4 separate regions of the Homo sapiens genome follow, and all the other regions are linked to region 1. Evidence: promoter capture Hi-C in human tissues and cell types (Jung and others, 2019). All regions are on one chromosome and are shown on one strand. The core of a region is centred on a gene start or on the middle of the fragment in contact, and the rest is flanking DNA. Distances in the headings are between cores, read along the strand shown. Region 1 holds the start of RASAL3 (RAS protein activator like 3). Region 2 holds the start of NDUFB7 (NADH:ubiquinone oxidoreductase subunit B7). Region 3 holds the start of AP1M1 (adaptor related protein complex 1 subunit mu 1). Region 4 overlaps RAB8A (RAB8A, member RAS oncogene family).

The links. Contacts are between HindIII fragments. The study calls those that stand out against the background at their distance.
Region 2: the fragment with the promoter of NDUFB7 here is called in contact with the fragment with the promoter of RASAL3 in region 1 in 2 of the 25 tissues and cell types used here (dorsolateral prefrontal cortex and thymus).
Region 3: the fragment with the promoter of AP1M1 here is called in contact with the fragment with the promoter of RASAL3 in region 1 in 1 of the 25 tissues and cell types used here (H1 embryonic stem cells).
Region 4: a fragment that was not itself captured here is called in contact with the fragment with the promoter of RASAL3 in region 1 in 1 of the 25 tissues and cell types used here (aorta).

Annotation. Positions count from the first base shown.
Region 1 is chr19:15,461,720-15,466,826 of GRCh38, forward strand. RASAL3 (RAS protein activator like 3) reads right to left here and starts at 2,825. Exons shown (of 18, transcript NM_022904.3): 1 at 2,786-2,825; 2 at 2,312-2,658. The coding sequence starts at 2,639. RefSeq lists enhancers at 2,049-2,188, 2,289-2,418, 3,059-3,168. The HindIII fragment of the contact is 13,394 bases long and covers 1-5,107 here.
Region 2 is chr19:14,569,176-14,574,282 of GRCh38, forward strand. It overlaps NDUFB7 (NADH:ubiquinone oxidoreductase subunit B7), which reads right to left and starts at 2,891. Exons shown (of 3, transcript NM_004146.6): 1 at 2,714-2,891. The coding sequence starts at 2,825. RefSeq lists an enhancer at 2,823-3,112. The HindIII fragment of the contact is 12,939 bases long and covers 1-5,107 here.
Region 3 is chr19:16,195,141-16,200,247 of GRCh38, forward strand. AP1M1 (adaptor related protein complex 1 subunit mu 1) reads left to right here and starts at 2,771. Exons shown (of 12, transcript NM_032493.4): 1 at 2,771-2,928. The coding sequence starts at 2,887. RefSeq lists a silencer at 2,915-3,154. The HindIII fragment of the contact is 7,648 bases long and covers 1-5,107 here.
Region 4 is chr19:16,123,066-16,128,172 of GRCh38, forward strand. RAB8A (RAB8A, member RAS oncogene family) reads left to right here. Exons shown (of 8, transcript NM_005370.5): 4 at 2,405-2,482; 5 at 4,372-4,461; 6 at 4,961-5,026. It overlaps HSH2D-AS1 (HSH2D and RAB8A antisense RNA 1), which reads right to left. Exons shown (of 2, transcript NR_199156.1): 2 at 1-3,922. Among named protein-coding and RNA genes, the nearest start is that of RAB8A, 14 kb to the left of the region's middle. The HindIII fragment of the contact is 7,709 bases long and covers 1-5,107 here.

The DNA of each region.
Region 1 (5,107 bases), core at 1,575-4,074:
AGCAGCCGTATCAGACTGTATGACCTTGGGCAAGCTTTCATCGCTGTCTGGGCCTTGTCCCCACTAACCATGGGTAGCAGACACAACTCACCTACCATGTGCCCAGTACCCTGTATACCACTCCACACACCTTCTTGCATTGAATCCTCCAAAAGCCATTCAAAGGGCTATGATAACAGGCTCAGAGAGGTTGAGTGACTTGCTCAGGGTCACACAGTTTGTGAGTGGTTGGGCTGGGCTTCAGTCACAAGCATTCTTCTCTCTCTCTCTTTTTTTGTTTTTTTGTTTTTTTTGCATTCTTCTCTTAACCAAGACATTATGTGGGTCCAAGAGGTTAAAAAACAGGACAGGGGCTGGGCAAGGTGGCTCATGCCTGTAATCCCAACATTTGGGAGGCCGAGGTGGGGCAGATTGCTTGAGACCAGGAGTTTGAGACCAGCCTGGGCAACATAACAAGACCCTGTCTTTAAAAAATAGCCTGATGTGCCTGGGCTCTGTGGCTCACACCTGTAATCCTAGCACTTTGGGAGGCCTAGGCGGGTGGATCATCTGAGGCTGGGAGTTCAAAACCAGCCTGACCAACATGGAGAAACCCCGTCTCTACTAAAAATACAAAATTAGCCAGGCGTGGTGGCACATGCCTGTAATCCCAGTTACTCAGGAGGCTGAGGCAGGAGAATCTCTTGAACTTGGGAGGCAGAGGTTGCAGTGAGCTGAGATTCCGCCACTGCACTCCAGCCTGGGCAAGGAAGTGAGACTGTGTCTCAAAACAAAAACAAAAACAAAAACAAAATGGGAATATAAGCAGTGAGAATTAAATGAGCTTCCAGGAAATAGGAGGGCTGAATTAGCCCTCCCAGATTGCCTGTCTGTTCCCTTGTTTTTACCACCAGGAGCAATAAATGATAACTCCCGCTTATTAACGGATCACTTAAAATATGTTGGGCCTGGGGCCGGGCGCGGTGGCTCACGCCTGTAATCCCAGCACTTTGGGAGGCTGAGGCGGGCGGATCATGAGGTCAGGAGATCGAGACCATTCTGGTTAACACAGTGAAACCCTGTCTCTACTAGAAATACAACAATTAGCTGGGCATGGTGGCGGGTTCCTGTAGTCCCAGCTGCTCAGGAGGCTGAGGCAGGAGAATGGCGTGAACCCAGGAGGCGGAGCTTGCGGTGAGCCGAGATCGCGCCACTGCACTCCAGCCTGGGCAACAGAGCGAGACTCCATCTCAAAAAAAAAATAAAAAAAATGCTGGGCCCTAGGCTAGTGTTACATTCCTGAGCCCTAATTCTTGTGATATCCATTACTCTTCTAGATCCCCCTGTGTGACACTTAGCACCATCTGTCATTTTTTTTCTTTCTTTTTTTTTTTTTTCTTCCATTGAGATGGAGTCTCCCTCTGTCGCCCAGGCGGGAGTGCAGTAGTGCAATCTCAGCTCACTGCAACCTCCACCTCCCGGGTTCAAGCGATTATCCTGCCTCAGCCTCCTGAGTAGCTGGGAGTACAGGTATGTGCCACCATGCCTAGATACTTTTTTTTTTTTGTATTTTTAGTAGAAACAGGGTTTTGCCATGTTGGCCAGGCTGGTCTCGAACTCCTGAGCTCAGGTGATCCACCCACCTTGGCCTCCCAAAGTGCTGGGATTACAGGTGTGAGCCATCATGCCTGGCCCATCTGTCATTTTCTTGTTGATGGATTTCCTGTCAATTCCACTACACTGTGAGCTCCATGGGGCAGGGAGGGTCATCTGTCTCTTTCACTAGTGTGTCCTCAGTGCCTAAATCAGGGCCTGGCACATACAATAGAAGCTCAACAAACCTCTGCTTGAATAAATGAATGAATATGAGCAAATAAAATTATATACTCTCCAAAATGGAGATCATTATTCTCACTGAACTGATGGAGAGGCTGAGGCTTAAGGGCTCAGAACAAAGACACGGAAGCTAGAAGGTAGGAGAGTAGGAGGCAGGCTGAAGATGGATATCCAGGTAGGAAAGGATGGGCCTGAGCCATTGAAGGAGAGACCCGTTGGGGCCAAGAGCCGTTTAGCCTCTGGACAATACTATCACGGGTTTACATTCACTGTTCCTTCCTCAGATGGACCCTCTGCCCACAGGACCCCGGCAACTCCTCCTACCCTCTTTAGGGGGAAAGAGGGAACAGGGTAGCTGGGCCCCAGCGGCTTCCTGCTGGGCTTTTGCACTCCCCACAACTTCCTGTGTCTGTATGGTTGATGCTCCGGAGGCAGACAAAACCCAAGCATCCGGCTTCCCAGCCCGGCCCAAGCTCAGGGTGGGGGAACCATGTACCTGGGGCCTCCTGCTCCGGCTCCGGGTCTGGCTCCGGCGGTGGGTTCTTATGCCTCCCCCAGAGGGCCTTGGAGAGTCGAAGGCGACTGGTCCGTGACTCCTTGGGAGGCGCAGATAGGACCCGACGGAATATCGAGCGAGGGGCTGGCTGGGTGCTGACCATGGGCTCCTGGTGGCTCAGGGCCCTGCCCCAGCCAGCAAAGCGGCCCCAGCGGAACCCTCCAGCCGCCTTCTCCCCACCGCCCCCTGTGTGCCAGCGGTAGGAAGTCAGCGGAGAGGTGGCTGTGGGCTGGGTTTGGGAGGTCCGGCTTGGCGACGGTGGGTCCATGGTTGGGGGGGGGGGTCTCCTGGGGGACGAGAGAGTGACAGTAGTGCCCAGTGTCTGTCCACATACTGCCCTCATCTCGGCCCCCTCCCCACCCTCAGCTCTGCCTCCAGGAATCCCCCTGCCCCCACCTCCACTCCCTCCCTTACCTTGGTTTCCTGACCAGCCCCAGAATCAGCAGCCGTCTGCACCCCGCCTGGCTTCCTCCCTCGGAACCCAACTCCACGTGACCCTCTCTGTCCCACCCCACCCCACAGCCAGGCTGGGAGGGCACAGTGCGGGCAGGTTGCTGGAGGTTCGAGGGAGGAGAAGAGAGGAGGTGGGTTACCAGGCTTCTAGCAAGAAGGACCCAGACTGCCTCCCTGACGGGGAGGCAGCACTTGCCCCTCTCTCTGAGCCTCCGTTGCCTTCTCTGCAAAATGAGTACAGGCTGAACAAATGCTGGCGAGAATACAAAGCACCTAGAACTCTAATCCACAGTTGGCCGGAGTGTAGACCCATTCACTCATGTTGGGAAACGGTTTGGCAGGATCTACTAACACTACTAGCTGGATCTTCTCTGACTCAGCAATTCCATTGCTAGGTAGACGTCCAATAGATATGCCCCCCCAGCACAATGCATAATAGCCCCACATTGGAAGCAGCCTAAGTACCCATTAGTGGGAGAAGGAATAAATTGTGATCTCTTCGCACAGCAGAATATCATACAGCAGTGAGAACAAACTAAAGAATGATTTAACTTGGGTGAATCACAAACAATGTTGAGCCAAAACCAAAACCAAAGCCATAAAATGCCAGTAATCTGAGCTATTCAGGAGGCTGAGGGAGGAGGATCGCTTGAGGCCAGGAGTTCGAGGCTGCAGTGAGCTGTGATCATGCCTGTGAATAGGCAGTGCACTCCAGTCTGGGTGACATAGGGAGACCTCATATCTAACTTTTTTTTTTCTTTTTCCCCTCCCTGCCCTCGGGAGACCCCATCTCTAAAAAGCAATAATAAATAAATTTAAAAACCCCAAAACAATGAAGAGTATACACTTTGTGATTCCATTTACATAAAGTCCTAAAGCAGGCAAAACCATGTCTAACAAGCAGGGTATCAGTTTCTTTTGGAGGCACTGGTGGCTGGGAAGAGGGTACAAGGGGGGCTTCTGGAAGATGGCAAGATTTATTATTACTCTTATTATTATTAATTGATTTATTTATCGAGAAGGAGTTTCGCTCTGTCTCCCAGGCTGGTGTGCAGTGGCACGATCTTGGCTCACTGCAATCTCTGCCTCCCGGATTCAAGTGATTCTCCCTACTCAGCCTCCTGAGTAGCTGGGACTACAGGTATTCACCACCATGCCTGCCTAATTTTTTTGTATTTTTAGTAGAGACGGGGTTTCACCATGTTGGTCAGGCTGGTCTTGAACTCCTGACCTGAAATGATCTGCCCGCCTTGGCCTCCCAAAGTGCTGGTATTATAGGCGTAAGCCACCGTGCCCGGCCCTTATTATTATTATTATTTATAAATGAGGTCTATAAAAATAATATAGATCTCATAAAATAAAAATATAATATTTATATTACATAGTAATATAAATAATATTACATTATACATAATATGAATATTATTATTTTTTGTAGATGAGGTCTGTCATCCAGGCTGGAGTGCAGTGGTGCCATCATAGCTCTCTGTAACCTCTAACTCCTGGGCTCAAGAGATCCTCTCGCCTTAGCCTCCTGAGTAGCTGGGACTACAGCTGCATGCCACCACACCTGGCTTATTAAAAACAATTTTTTTGTTGTTGTTGAGATGAGGGTCTTGCTTTGTTGCCCAGGCTGTTCTTGAACTCCTGGCCTCAAGTGATCCTCCCACCTCAGCCCCCTAAGTAGCTGGGATAATAGGCACATGCTACCATGCCTGGCCTATTTTTTTTTTAATTGAGGTAAAATTCATATAACACAAATTTAGCATGTTCTTTTTTTTTTAATAAGATTTTTTTTTGAGACAGGGTCTTGCTCTGTTGGCCAAGCTGGAGTGCAGTGGCACAATCACAGCTCACTGCATTCTCAACCTCCTGGGCTCAAGCGATCCTCCTACCTCAGGCTCTCGAGTAGCTGGGACTACAGGTGCATGCTACCTGACTAATTTTTAACTTTTTGTTTGTTTGTTTTTTGTAGAGATGGGGCCTCACTATGTTGCCCATGCTTGTCTTGAACTCCTGGGCTCAAGCAATCCTCATGCCTCAGCCTCCCAAAGTGCTGGGAATACAGGAATAGCATCAGCCTCTGTGCCCAGAGAGACGAAGCCTTGTTCTGTCACCCAGGCAGGAGTACAGTGGCTATTCCCAGGCATGATTGTGGGTCACTGCAACCTTGAATTCCTGGGCTCAGGCAATCCTCCTGCCTCAGCCTCCTGAGTAGCTGGGACTGCAGGTGCATGCCACCATGCCTGGCTAATTTTAATTTTTTTTTTTTTGTAAAGAGAC
Region 2 (5,107 bases), core at 1,641-4,140, 890 kb before region 1:
TGATCTAGGAGGGAGGGAGAGAGTGAAGGATCCGGGAGGTAAGAGAAAGGCCAGGCACCATAAAGAGTCCACTGGAGTACCAATCGGGAGACCGGTCAGCAGGGACTGCAGGAATGCGCCACCACACCCAGCTAATTAAAAAATAAAAATAAAAAATTGTAGAGACAGGGCCTTGCTATGTTGCCCAGGCTGTTCTTGAACTTCTGGCCTTGAGCAATCCTCCTGCCTTTGCCTCCCAAACCGTTGGGATTACAGGCATGAGCCATTTTGCCTGGCTTAGAGCTGTTTTTTTCTTATCTCCCCGCCCCCCATTATGTTCAGTTGCACGGGGATAGGCACCAAGGAAGGGAAAGAGGTGAGTTTATCCAGAGTAAGCAAGAGAGAAGGGCAGCAGGTTGCTAGCGTTTGCAAAGCTGATCTTGGGGAAAGCAAGGTATGTGAGGCAGTGGGAGGAAGGTGGACGGACCAATGAACTGCAGGTTCAGCTGGGGCGGAAGGACTACCCGGAGTGTGGACACTGGAGTGATTATACCATCTCCCAACTTTCTCTCAAATCCAGGCTGCTTAGAGGTCTCTGTCTCAAGCTTGTCGCCCACTCAGTAGACAGTGTGACCTTTTGACCAACCAAAACTGATTGTGTCCCTCCTCTGCTTAGAAGCTTGGCTCTGCCACCTCTCTTTGGTCAACCCCTACTCATGCCCCTTCACATCTTTGTTTTGTTTTGTTTTGTTTTTTCAGACAGTCTCGCTCTGTCACCCAGGCTGGAGTGTGGTGGCCTGACCTTGGTTCACTGCAACCTCTGCCTCCTGGGTTCCAGCCAATTCTCCTGCCTCAGCCTCCCAGACAGCTGGGATTACAGGCATGCGCCACCACACCTGGCTAATTTTTGTATTTTTAGTAGAGTAGAGACGGGGTTTCACCATGTTGGCCAGGCTGGTCTCAAACTCCTGACCTCAGGTGATCCACCGGCCTTGGCCTCCCAAAGTGCTGGGATTACAGGCATAAGCCACCGTGCCCGGCTTAATTTTTGTATTTTGTTTTTGAGATGGAGTCTTGCTCTGTCGCCCAGGCTGGAGTGCAGTGGTGTGATCTCGGCTCACTATAACCTCTGCCTCCTGGGTTCAAGCGATTCTCCTGCCTCAGCCTCCTGAGTAGCTGGGACTACAGGTGTGCACCACCACGCCCCTGGCTAATTTTTGTATTTTTAGTAGAGACAGGGTTTCACCACATTGGCCAGGATGGTCTCAATCCCCTGACCTCGTGATCTGCCCGCCTCGGCCTCCCAAAGTGCTGGGATTATGGGTGTGAGACACCATGCCCGGCCTCAATTTTTATATTTTTAGTAGAGATGGTGTTTCACCATGTTGGCCAGGCTGGTCTCAAACTCCTGACCCCAGGTGATCTGCCCGCCTTAGCCTCCCAAAGTGCTGGGATTACAGGCATGAGCCACCACGACCGGCCACCCTTCACGTCTTTGTTTCCAGCCACTGCCTCTTGGAAGCCTGCTTTGACACCCCCAGCTCTGCCTGATTCCACAATCTTTCCCACTGTGCTGAGTTCTCTGGAGACAGTGCCTGCATCCCTCCAGTTCCCTGCTGTATCCGCGGTGCCTAATGTGGGACGTGGCCCAGAGCTGGTGCTCGGTATGCCTGTGATATTACTACATTAAAAGCAAAAACAAACACACGAACCAAAAAACCATCCTGGGCGTAGTGGCTCACATCTTCAATCCCAGCACTTTGGGAGGCTGGGCAGAAGGATCGTTTGAGCCCAGGAGTTTGAGACCAGCCTGGGCAACACAGCAAGACCCCCAACTCTACAAAAAATAAAAAATCAGTCTGGCATCCTGGGGCGCTCCTGTAGTCCCAGCTACTCGGGAGGCTGAGGCGGGAGGATCATTTGAGCCCAGGAGGTCGAGGATGCAATGAGCTGTGATTGTGCCACTACACTCAGCCTGGGCAACAGAGCAAGATCCCGTCTCAAAGCAAAACAAAGCACTTTGCAGGACAGTATTTGCAGCTCGAATCTTCCTTATTTCCTTGTGCATACCCCACAATTGCAGTGACATCAGGAAGGGGGTACAATGAACGTGTCCCTGCCCTCCCATGACTCCCCACGTCCCCCAAGACTTGGCCCGAGGCCGGGCGTGGTGACTGACTTCTGCGATCCCAGCACTTGGGGAGGCCGAGGCGGGCGGATCACTTGAGGTCAGGAGTTCAAGAGCAGCCTGGCCAACAAGGAGAAACCCCGTCTCTACTAACAATACAAAAAAGTAGCTGGGCATGGTGGTACACATCTGTAATCACAGCTACTCGCGAGGCTGAGGCAGGAGAATCGCTTGAACCCGGGAGGTGGAGGCTGCCAGTGAATCGAGACCAAGCCACTGCACTCCAGCCTGAAAGAAAAAGCGAGACTCCGTCTCAAAAGAAAAAAAAAAAAGACTCGACCCAGCTCTGCGCGTCGCATTCCTGCCCGAACCCCCACTTGTCGCCTCACTTTTGCTCCCTGGCTTTTGCTCAAGCCGTGCCCTTGGGCTGGAACGCCTCCACACTGAGGTGGGGTCATGCACGTCCTGTGGACTCCTAGTCTAGACCCAAACCCAGATACAACACCTGAGGTTAGAGCCCAGCCCTGGGGTGCCAGCCCTGGGGTGCCAGGTGTTCAGGCACCCGCGCCCCACGCCCTCTGGCTGCGCCTGCGCACTGGGCCTCACCGCGCTCCTTGCGTTCGGGGAAGCCGTAGTCTGGCGGGAAGGTTGGCATCTGCAGGGGGTCGGGCTCCACCGAGGCATCGCCCAGGTAGCGCCGGACCAGGTGGGCCCCCATGGCTGCAGTCGCTGCAGATCCCTGCAGCAGCCGAGGGTCACCTAGCTCCTACCCGGAACCACTGACCCCTCAGTCAGACACAGCTTCCGGGTCATTTAGGCAGCTGCGGAGATCATAGAGATGAAGGACTCCAGAGGATCGCTCCGGTCCGCCTGGCGTCACCTCGCGGACAGGCGGAGGCGGGACAGGTGCTGTGTCTCTTCGCAGGATATGGTTGGACCCGAGAGGGGACTTCCCTGAGCCTGGAAATCCATCTGGGCGGGGCAGAAGGGGACGGTGTGGGACTGAGGCCTCCCTCGACCCTATCTGGGGCTCTTCTGGTAGCCCGAGGCTAAAGCACATATTAAAATTATTTTTCATATCATTTTCCAAAAAGTTTTTTCTTTGAAAACATTCAAATTTCTCTTAAAAAAGGCACGATATCTATTATATCGTTAATGTATGTAATTTTGCATAAAGTCACTTTAAGAATTTTTTGTTTTTGGAGACACAGTACCTGTCGCCCAGACTGGAGTGTATTGGCGCGATCTCGGCTCACTGCAGCCTCCACCTCCTGGGCTCAAATTCTCTTGCCTCAGCCTCCTGAGTAGCTGGGATTACAGGCGCCCGCCACCACCCCCAGCTAATTTTTGTATTTTTAGTAGAGACGGGGTTTCGCCAGTTGGCCAGGCTGGTCTCGAACCCCTGACCTCAAGTGATTCCCCCGCCTCAGCCTCCCAAATTGCTGGGATTACGGGCATGAGCCACAGTGCCTGTCCAAGAAAGATTTTGATAAATTTAATTTAAATAAAAGTTATTCATAAATACAGTTATTATTATATTATTATTTTTTGAGATAGGGTCTCATTCTGTCGCCCAGGCTGGAGCACAGTGGCACAATCATAGCTCACTGCAACCTTGAACTCTTGGGCTCCAGGGATCCTCCCGCCTCAGCCTCTCAAAGTGTTGGGATTATGGGCGTAAGCCACTGTGCCTGGTCAAAAACAATTATTTAAAGCTGAAATTTCAAATAAATTATATATATATATGCAATCTTTATACAATTTTAAAATATATTAATATCTAATATTAATATCTAATATATATTTTTCCCCAGTCTGACAAAGCATGTATTAGGCATCTACTGTATGGTATGCTGGGTCCAGTGGTCAGACAGAAAGGCAGACGTGGTTCCTGTCTTTCAAGCTTACAGTCTAATGGAACAGAAAAACAGTCTAATGGAAAAAAAAAAATATGGGCCAGGGCAGTGGCTCACACCTGTAATCTCAGAGCTTTGGGAAGCTGAGATGGGAGGATCGCCTGAACTCAGGAGTTTGAGACCAGCCTGGGCAATATAGGGAGACTCTATCTCTACAAAAAAAAAAAAAAAAAAAAAAGCTGGGTGTGGTGGTGCACGCTTGTAGTCCCAGCTACTCGGGAGGCTGAGGCAGGAGGATAACTTGAGCCCAGGAGTTCCAGGCTGCAGTGAGCCGTGATCCCATCACTGCACTCCAGCCTAGGCAACAGAGTGAGACCCTGTCTATAAAAATTCCCAGGTGATGTGATGTTGCTGGTCTAGTGACCAGCTTTGGGAGAATTACTCAACTAGATCTTTATGTGTTGACATGGGGAAGTGGCTGCTGATATATTAAGTGAAAAAAGCAAGCTATTGAGAATAGACAACTGGCAATAGAGACTTTTCTTTTTCTTTCTTTTTTTTTTTTTTTTTTGAGACAGAGTTTCACTCTTGTTGCCCAGGCTGGAGTGCAGTGGTGTGATCTCGGCTCACCGCAACCTCCGCCTTCTGGTTTCAAGCGATTCTCCTGCCTTAGCCTCCTAAGTAGCTGGGATTACAGGTGGGTGCCATCACGGCCAGCTAATTTTTTTTTTTTTTTTTTTGAGACGGAGTCTTGCTCCGTTGCCCAGGCTGGAGTGCAGTGGCGCAATCTCGGCTCACTGCAAGCTCCGCCTCCCGGGTTCACGCCATTCTCCTGCCTCAGCCTGCCGAGTAGCTGGGACTACAAGCGCCCGCCACCACGCCCGGCTACTTTTTTTGTATTTTTAGTAGAGACGGGGTTTCACCGTGTTAGCCAGGATAGTCTTGATCTCCTGACCTTGTGATCCGCCCGCCTTGGCCTCCCAAATAATTTTTTTGTATTTTTAGTAGAGACGGAGTTTCATCATGTTGGCTAGGCTGGTCTTGAACTCCTGACCTCAGGTGATCCACCCGCTTCGGCCTCCCAAAGTGCAGGGATTACAGGCTTGAACCACTGCGTCCAGCTGAGACCTTCTTTCCAGGGCTA
Region 3 (5,107 bases), core at 1,521-4,020, 730 kb after region 1:
GGCTGGGCGCAGTGGCTCATGCCTTTAATCCCAGCACTTTGGGAGGCCAAGGCGAGCAGATCACTTGAGCCGAGGTGTTTGAGACCAGCCTGGGCAACATGGGGAAACCCCATCTGTACAAAAATCGCAAAATTAAGCCTGGCCAACATAGTGAAACCCCATCTTTACTAAAAATACAAAAACTGATCTGGGCCTGGTGGCACACATCTGTAGTCCCAGCTACTCAGGAGGCTAAGGTTGGAGGATCGCTTGAACCCAGGAGGCAGAAGTTGCAATGAGCTGCTGAGATTGCACCACTGCACTCCGGCCTGGGTGACAGAGCGAGACCCTGTTTCAAAAAAAAAAACAAAAAACCAGAATTAGCTGGCCTTGATGGTGTGCATCTGTAGTCCCAGCTGAGCCAAGGAGGTGAAGGTTGCAGTGAGCCGAGATTGCACCAGTGCACTCCAGCCTGGTGACAGGATAAGACCGTGCCTCAAAAAAAAAAAAAAAGAAAGGAAAAGAAGGCCAGGCGCGGTGACTCACACCTGTAATCCCAGCACTTTGGGAGGTGGGGCGGGCGGATCACAAGGTCAAGAGATCAAGACCATCCTAGCCAACATGGTGAAACCCCGTCTCTACTAAAAATACAAAAATTAGCTGGGCATGGTGGCAGGCACCTATAGTTCCAGCTACTTGGGAGGCTGAGGCAGGAGAATCACTTGAACCTGGAAGGCAGAGGTTGCAGTGAGCCGAGATCGTGTCACTGCATGCCAGCCTGGTGACAGAGTGAGACTCTGTCTCAAAAAAAAAATTAAAAAAAAGAAAAATCCCAATAACCAAACCCTGGCCCAGACCAATTAAAACAAAATCTCTATACATGGCTTTCAGGCCTCAGTGGTTCTTATTGTGTGTGTTGTATTGGGGGGGCTTTTGAGACCCCCACTCCTAACCTATTCCCAGACCAAACTGAGGGTTGGGCTTCTATATCTCACAGCCCAATAATGAGACACAGATGAACTAGGGAGGAAGAGAGTTTTTATTTCTGTAACTGGTTACAGGGAGAAGGCCTGGAAAATATCACCAGACCAACCCAAAATTACAAAGTCTTCCAGAGCTCATATACCTTCTAAGCTATATGTCTACGTGTAGGTGTGCATTCATCTAAAGACGTAAGTAAGTTATAGTCTTTTAACCCATAACTAAGATCTGAGTCCTGAAGACCTTCCTCTGGAGCCTCAGTAAATTTACTTAATCTAAGTGGGTCCAGGTGCTGGGGTGATTACCCTTATCTTATCTCCTGCTAAATCATGGAGGTTTGGGGGAGTTCCTTCAAACCCCAATAAACTTGTTTGTGGAGGCCTGAGGAGTTTCTTCAGACCGCCAATAAAGCTTGTTTAATCCTAAAAGGGTCCTGTTAAGAATTCCTTCATTATCTTGTCATGCTTCAAGGCCCAGGAAAGGCCTAGGCACAACTCTGGGTGGGCTTTTGTTACATCCCAGCCTTTGTATAAGGGCACTGGCTCTCTTATCTTTTAATATTTAACTTAACCCTTGTAATCCCAGCACTTTGGGAGGCCGAGGTGGGTGGATCACGTGAGGTCAGGAGTTTGAGACAAGCCTGGCCAACATGGTGAAACCACGTCTCTACTAAAAATACAAAAATTAGCTAGGTGTGGTGGCACATGCCTGTAATCCCAGCCACTTGAGAGGCTGACACACAAGAGAATCACTTGAACCCAGGAGGCAGAGGTTGCAGTGAGCCGAGATCATGCCATTGCACTCCAGCCTGGGTGACAGAGTGAGACTCCATCTCAAAAAAAAAAAAAAAAAAAAAAGCAAACAACAAAAACCCTCTCTTGGCTGCTTGCTCTGTGCCTTGAGCAAGAATCCTTCCAGCCCAGGAGTCACTTAGCAGTCTTCAAACATTCTAGTTTGCTTCTCTAGAGTTTCGGTCACATTTCTTTCCTAAGCAAAACACTATATAATTACCGAGTTGCAAAAATCATCTTTCCAAACGCCAAAACGGAGATAAGACAGAAAATAAAAGATGTGAGAGGCAGGCATCCTGGGTAAATCACTCTGGTATTGCAGGGTTGGGATCCCCAGGGTACTATGATGGCTAACTGGAACAGAATGCAGGCATTTCTCCAAAGCCCAAGAGTTCATAAAAGCAAATTAAATATGACTCAATGGATTAATCAAGGGCCACCAGTTGCATTACTGATTACTAACTTTGCAGAAATGAAACACGGTATGTTGGGTCAAGGTTCAGTGAGGCTGGTTTTCATAACATTCCAGGCAATAAACAGGCACACTCATTCATTGATAAATGTTGACAATGACAGGTGGTGACTGTTGATAAGGTTTGATTGCCATTCAGAAAGTTTGTTTGACCTCTTTCCAAGTAACCACGACCTTACCTCTCTCTTTTGAGCTTATCACAATTGGTGACTGTACACTTGTTTCATAGACTTCCCCACCAGACTGTGAGCTCCATAGGGCTGGGCCCCAGGTCGGTTTCACCACCAGGCTCTCTCGCCTAACTCGGCCCACGGGAGGCCGTTTCCAGCTGCTCTGGCTCCATAGCTCAGCCTGGCAGCGGCCACTGGGTGCCCTGATTTGGTCGGCCCCGCCCCACCGGGCCTTACTTCCGGGATGCTTCTGGCGGGAGCAAGAAACATGGTTACATACGACGTAATGCGCCTGCGCACAGTCCGTCCTGCGCCTGCGCATTCCTGACAGCACCTCCCGGACCGGACATAACGGTCCCCGCGCGGCTCCCCGAACCGGAAGTGGAGGTGAGCTGTCGCGGGCGGCGCCCGGCCTTGCTCAACGCCCAGCAGTCCCCACCGTCGCTGCCGCCGCCACCGCCCTCGGCCGCTGCCGAGGCCTCCTGCAGCCATCATGTCCGCCAGCGCCGTCTACGTGCTGGACCTGAAGGGCAAGGTACTGAGGGCTCCCCACCCTCCCTGTTGCCAGGCAACCGGCAGGGGCCTCCGCCCGCGGGGACCCACCCTGTTGCTAGGTAACCGGCTTATGAGCCCCATCCTGGTGTGAGGCAGAGAGGCCGGTAGACCTCACCTGAGAGCCCCATCCTGTTTCTGGGTAACCGGGCGGGGGTCTTAAGTGGGTAATCCCCGCCCTGTTGCTACGTAACGCGGTGGGCTGCAGCCACCGCGTTGCCAGGTAACTGACTGCACCGCCCTCTGCTCCCCGGCGCCGGGGCCGGGGGCTCGGGCCTCGGTGGAGGACCCAGAAGCGGGGCCGCAGCCGGCCTCGGAGCCAGGCAGGGCGTCCAGGGGCTGCGCGACCCTTGGCCGGGGGTGGCGAGGCGTGGCGGGGACTGGGTGCTCTCGAGCCAGTCCCGCCTTCTCAGGGCGTTACAGCTTCTGTTTATCGTGCACTTTCTCTCAGTAGGAATTTCTCCACGTTCATTGTGATAGTGAGTTACAAGGATTAGGTGAGGTGAGTGGTGATCACGAGTGCCGTTTTATAGAGGGAGAAACTGAGGCATGGAGAGGTGAAGCAACCTGACCAAGGTCACAATGGTCACAGAGAAGTAGCAAGTCTAGGAGTCCGATCCAGAATCATTCGTTTATTCAGCTGATATCTGGGGAGCACCTACTAATGCCGGGCAGGGTACTAAGCCTGGGGTCGATTTGTGTTTAGCAAAAAACAGTCCCTTTTTTTTTGTTTTGTTTTTGAGATAGTGTCATGCTCAGTCGTCCAGTCTGGAGTGTAGTGGTGCAATCTCCACTCACTGCAACCTCCGCCTCCCGGGTTCAAGCAATTTTCCTGCCTCAGCCTCCCAAGTAGCTGGGATTACAGGCACCTGCCACTACGCCGAGCTAAATTTTGTATTTTTAGTAGAGGCAGGGTTTCACCATGTTGACCAGGCTGGTCTCGAACTCTTGACCTCGAGTGATCCACCTGTCTTAGCCTCCCAAAGTGCTGGGATTACAGGTGTGAGTCATGTGCCAGGGCTCAACAATCTGTGTTCTTACGGTGTTCACAGGCTGGTAGGGGAGATGGATACCCATCTCCAAAAACACAAATAAATGTCAATTGCAGTGGTGTTGAGGGGCGAGTGTGTTATACAGACAGTCAGCCTCAGCCCGAGGATGAGAGAGGGTTTCCCTGAGGAGGGGTGACAAATGGACCAGAGACACCAGGGAGCTGGACATAAACTAGAACCCAGGCATCTTCCCCAGAGGATCTGAGAAAACTTTAAGAAGGGATTGTCCCCACCTTTTAGAAATGGTCCTCTGCCTTCTCCTAAGTCCATCCCAGGTGCAAGGCAGGTGGCTGCCTGGCCTGTTGCATGTGGAAGCAACAAGAACCGGTCCAACAATGTGAAGCCCAACATTGATCAGTGAGAGAAACAAACATGGGTGTCAGGTCCTAGGTGAGGCGGGCAGGGGTGAGCCCTAAAGCAGCTGAGAGTGAAGAGGTGAAATGGCTGCCCCTTCCCGCCCCACCCCACCCCCAGCACTTTCCTGAAGTCCCTTGAGTGGGTGCCTGCTCTGGAAGCCACCCAAAGTCAACAACTGGTGAGACCCAGTGCTGGGCTTCCCTCCCCCGCCTTCTTGGAAGGAGGGAAGACACCCGTCTTAGAGCACGCCAGGGGCTGGGTGGTGCGGTGGAATGAGTCCTGGTGGAATGAGTCTTGCTTCCACCCTGGCCACTGCCTCCCCAGAGGTGCCAGTGGGCTGCCTGTCTTGGCTTGCTTATTCCTTCAGCAAACATTTCATGAGCACCTAGCATGCACCCTGCCCTATGCCGGGCATAGGGTGTCCATTGGCGCCATGGCTGTGGTGTTAGGGGTGAGCTCAAAACCCATCCCTGCTGCTCAGCTGTGTGACCTGGGACAGGCACCTTCTCCTGTCTGAGCCTCACTTTCCTCACTGGTCAAAAGAGGCTTTTATGGAGTTATTGTGCAGATTTGCTGAGCAGATGCATGAGACAGGCTCAGCACCACCCATGGTCCATGTTAGCTCTCCCAGGCCTCTCGGTCTAGCAGGGGAGTCACCTAGAAGCAGAGACATTACCACACAGTTGGATCCAGGCAGCCACAGGGGCAGGAACAAGGTCCCAAGTCCTGCAGTTGCTCAACCTCATCTTTAGC
Region 4 (5,107 bases), core at 1,325-3,824, 660 kb after region 1:
ACCTCTTTGTGCAGGCGCCATTGTCATCCCTGTTTTATAACAAAGAACCTGAGGTTTGGCCCGGTGGCCTGCCCCGCTGAAGTTCACTCAGCAGGTAAATGGCTAGGCTGGGCTGGGCTGTTTGTCTCTAGCACCCACATCCTCAACCAGCACCAAGATGATCGTGGCTTTCCATCCTCCTAGACCCAGGCCAACCTGAACAGATGCCACCACTGGCTGCATGTGGCTATTTGAATTTACCCAATTAACATTGAAAATCCAGCCAGGCGCAGTGGCTGATGCCTGTAATCCCAGCACTTTGGGAGGCCGAGGTGGGTAGATCTCTTGAGGTCAGGAGTTGGAGACCAGCCTGGCCACATGGTAAAATTCCATCTCTACTAAAAATACAAAAATTAGCTGGGCGTGGTGGCGGATGCCTGTAATCCCAGCTACTCAGGAGGGTGAGGCAGGAGAATCGCTTAAACCTGGGAGCCGGAGGTTGCGGTGAGCCGAGGTTGCACCACTGCACTCCAGTCTGGGCAGCAGAGCAAGTATCCGTCGCTTAACTACTTAATTAATTAATTAATTTTAAAAAACATTGAAAATCCAGCTCCTTGGGTCAAAGCAGCTATGTTTCTGATGCCCTAGAGCCTTGTGTAGCCAGTATCAGTCATATGGGACAGCACCACCATTGCAGCTGTGTCCTCATCTCTGTCAGCATGCTCATAGACCCTTGGGCCTCAAAATCCCAAGTTTGGGAAGCATTGGATGCCTAGAGACCCATGGTGAGGTTTGCCCAGACGGGGCCCTGGAAAATAGTCACTTGGAGCCCTGAGGGGTGTTTCCAGGAAAACCTGGAATAGGATGGCTGGCTCAGTGTTTTCCAGGTGCTTCTGCTTGATTCTAAGAGAGAGCTCTACCCACTGCCCCACTAACGTCCAGGTTCTCCCCTCAGCTCCCTGAAATAGGTATAATCCAGGAATTTGAGTCTTAGGCACATGTCACCAACTTAGTGGTGAAGGCAGGAATCCTGGGCTTTCAGAGGGTCCAGTCCCCGGATAAAGGGCCCCACGCCCCCTGTCCCTGACCATGTCACAGTCACAGGGTGTGCCCACCGTGGATGGGGCATGGCAGACATCATGGGCCACTGCAGCCTTGAGGTTCTTCGCCATGGTTGCGGCTGACTGTGAGGCCATTATTCATGTCCCTGAATTCCCAGGAGGATTTGGGGTTGCAGTGACTTTCTTGCCCCATCTGTGTCGTTTTTGTCCCACACTCTTGCACCCACATCTGTCTCACCATTACCACATGGCCCGTGTCCTTATTCTGCAAACTTGGATGGCCCCAGACAACTTGGCCAGCAGCAGAAGTCATCAGTGCCCTCAGGTGCCACAGATGCAGGGCTGGGCCTGGGGAGCAGGTAGCGAGGAGGAAGGAAGAAATCCAGGCCTGGCCATGAGCAGGCCACGTGCCTTGGAGCCCAGGATGCCCGGCAACAAAGGGGGACTTGTGATGGCACTGCAGGCTGGCCCGCTGTGGGCACTCCACAAGGACATCGAGAACCACACAGACCGTCAGAGGGTGGCCCCCACATGTGGGTTCTGGGGCTGAAAAAGGCCCAGGGATATTGCTGAGAGGATAGGTGTCATCAGTGCTTTTGGAGTTAGCCCCCCCCCGCCCCCCGTGCTTGAATCTTAAAGGTCACGTCTCTGTGCCTCAGTTTCCCCTTGCATCGCATGGGCATGTTTGCGCTTGTCCACAGCAGTAGCGAGGCTGTGGACCCAGGCTGAGGCGGGGCTGCCCCGAAGCTCTTCCAGGACCCACGAGCCGTCTCCCAGTTGCTCACGTCTAGGTTAGGGAACTGGAAGGGCCTTGGCACTCTCGGCTCCATCTTCACACAGCCGGTTCCCTCTGTGGTGGGGTCACTGGAAGTTGTGTGGATGTCGGGTCAGGACTTCCTGGGCTCAGTTGTGCCTGGTAGGTGGCTCAGGCAGAGCGTGGGGTGAGCAAGGGGTGAAGAGGAGGCCGATTGCAGGGGAGGGTCAGCGTGAGGGGAGTGCTGCTGGCAGTGGGCCTGTGGACCGGCTCCCACCGTCAGGCTGCACCACCCCGTGGGCCATGAGGGGAGCCAGCCGGGCTTGTCAGCGAGTGCGTGGCAGGGGCTGGCCTGTGAGGCAGAAGGGTCACCTCAGCGGCCCGGGGGGCAGGACAAGGCTGGTGCCAGAACCCAGCAGAAAGAAGGGCCACAGGGATGGAGAGGAGGGGGCTGGCTTCCGGGGCTCCACAGAGGTGGGGAGGGCGGCAGCTAATGGGCCTGGCTGTGCAGTGGGTGCTGGGCTCCCCACCACTGTTCTCTGGTGCCGCTGAGGCCTCCCTTCCAGAGCCTGCAGCCGATCAGGCACCTGTGTCTTCTCTCCCCGCGCAGGGCATCATGCTGGTCTACGACATCACCAACGAGAAGTCCTTCGACAACATCCGGAACTGGATTCGCAACATTGAGGAGGTGAGGCCCTCCGGCTCCTCCCACTGTCCCTGCTTCAGTCCTTGTCCCAGAGCCCTCTGGTTTACTCATGAGAAGGCCAAGGTGCAGAGACACATACAGGCCACTTGCCCACAGCCTCCTAGTCAGGGACATGGTGGGAGCAGGGACTGAGATGCAAGCAGCCGGCCCCAGGGACCACACACTGGCCTGGCCCCACCCCGGAGCCCCTCGGAGCCCATCCCTCCAGCTAGGCTGTTGGATCTGGCCAGTGTCATGGTTATAAGAGAAAGGATATCCAAGCTTGTGGTCACCATGAGTGTTGGGTGCTTTCTAGAGAAGGAAGGGTCTAGCACAGGTGTGACCCTTGTAGTTGGAGGGTGTGGTGAGCAGGCGTCAGTTGTACTTTGAGCTATATCGGAGCAGGGTGTGACCTGGTACAAACGACCTGTGTTCAGACCTTGAACCATAGAGCAGTGAGAAGTAGGCCAACCCCTCCTCCCCTCCCAAAGCCAGCATCTTCATCTTCTGCTCCCCAAAGAGCTGACCTCACCCCCAAAGCCTTCCTGGCTGCCGGCACCTGCAGCTTTCTATAACTAACCATGTGGGGCTTCAGGTCTGAGGCACAGCCAGAGAACTTTTCCCATCTATAAAACCACAGCAAAAGGGCATATCACTGTCCACCCAGGACTCATGGACCTCCCAGGCCAGGCCGAGAGGCCACCCCATCATTTGTGAGTCATTGCACTGGGCTCACCTCCCCAGTGACCCTGAGAGGGCTGTGCTGCCAAATTTGCCAGTGCAGGGCTGCACCCCAGCTGGGAAAGCTGTCTTCATCCGTGGAGAGGAGGAGAGCCTGGTCTTTGTGAAAGGTCTCTGTTTCTGGCCAGCGGGCAGGAGCCACCTTCTGGTTCATGGGAAGTGAGGCAGGGAGTGGCGCAGTAGGTTCCAGAGACCAAGTCTGAGCTGGTGGAAGAAGACAGCAGTTTCCAGTGTCCCCGTCCTCCAGGAAGCGTGGTCCGCTCCATGGGGACCCAGGGAGACTTGACGAAGGAGCTGCCTTTGGGTATGAGGGCAGAGTTTGGGCAACATCAGACAGGGTGGTGAAGTGCCTGCAGCTGGTGACGGCCTCGAGTTGCGACCACCTCAGGCACGGCCTGTTTCTGGAGCCCAAAAATAGTTGAAATGTCAGGGCCAGGCGAGGTGGCTTATGCCTGTAATCCCAGCAGTTTGGGAGGCTGAGGCGGGCAGATCACCTGAGGTCAGAAGTTTGAGACCAGCCTAGCCAACATGGCGAAACTCTGTCTCTACTAAAAATACAAAAAATTAGCCTGGTATGGTGGCAGATGCCTGTAATCTCAGCTATTCGGGAGGTTGAGGATCGCTTGAACCTGAAGGCAGAGGTTGCAGTGAGCCGAGATCATGCCACTACACTCCAGCCTGGGAGACAGAACGAGACTCCATCTCAAAAAAAAACAAAAAAAAAAGTGTCAAAGCAGAAGGTCCCAGGACAACAGCTGGGGCCTCTTGCAGAGGAGCCAGGGAGGGAAGGAGGAAAGCCAAGGTCGGGGGGTAAATATCTCAGCCTCACTCACCTCCCATAGGCTAGACCCGCCCAGCATCCCAGGTGCGGGGGCTTGATTGATACAGCCATAGAAGCTGCCAGAAAGCATTTCAGAAAATGTGCATTTGCTCAGAGTAGCAGCTAGAACCCTGGCCCCAGCCCTGGCATTGGCTGTGTGACATGGGGCCGGCTGCTTGGCCTCTCTGAGCTTCAGCTTGTCCCTTAGACCAGGCTGTACCTAGCAGTCCTGACCCCACCGCTCTGATTTCTGGGGACAGACTGTGTGTTGGCAGAGGCACCTGGCCTGTGTCATCCGGTCTGATCCCCCGTCTGTCCCCCTCCCTCTCAGCACGCCTCTGCAGACGTCGAAAAGATGATACTCGGGAACAAGTGTGATGTGAATGACAAGAGACAAGTTTCCAAGGAACGGGGAGAAAAGGTGGGCATGGTGGCACAAGGGGCAGAGGGCCTCGGGGTCTTGGGGTTCTTGTGCAGAGGCCTTCCCCTGTCCCTCCTCTGCCCCAGGGGCCTGAGACGAGTTGGTCACCCCAGTGGGGCACGTGCCATGGGATGACAGAAGCACACACCCAGCCGGGGCTTCTTGGGTGCACTCTGCGGGCATCTCATCAAAACCTACCATGGCCCCGCTCCAGACTTTCAAGACCACAGGAGCGGGGAACAGAGCCATAGTTTGATCCCAGCAGGTCCCCGCCACCCTCCCATCTCAGCTGCCATCCCCAGCAACTCCATGCCCTGTGAGGCCCTGTGGAGGGGCATTCACTATAGAATTGAGGGAGTGATCCAGGAAGTCACGCCCACAGCCCCAGCCCTGTTGCTGCTCCCTCTTGGCGCCGGCCCTGCCTTCAGCTCCTGTTTTAGGCAAGCTCAGATGCGCCCGGCGGCTGGTGTGCTCATGCGTGTGCCTCCCTCTCTCACAGCTGGCCCTCGACTATGGAATCAAGTTCATGGAGACCAGCGCGAAGGCCAACATCAATGTGGAAAATGTGAGTCCCGGGCCCTGCTGGGAGACATGGGGCCTGCAGGATCGGCCCCTTCAGGCTAAAGGGGGAGCTGGCGTCCTCCGA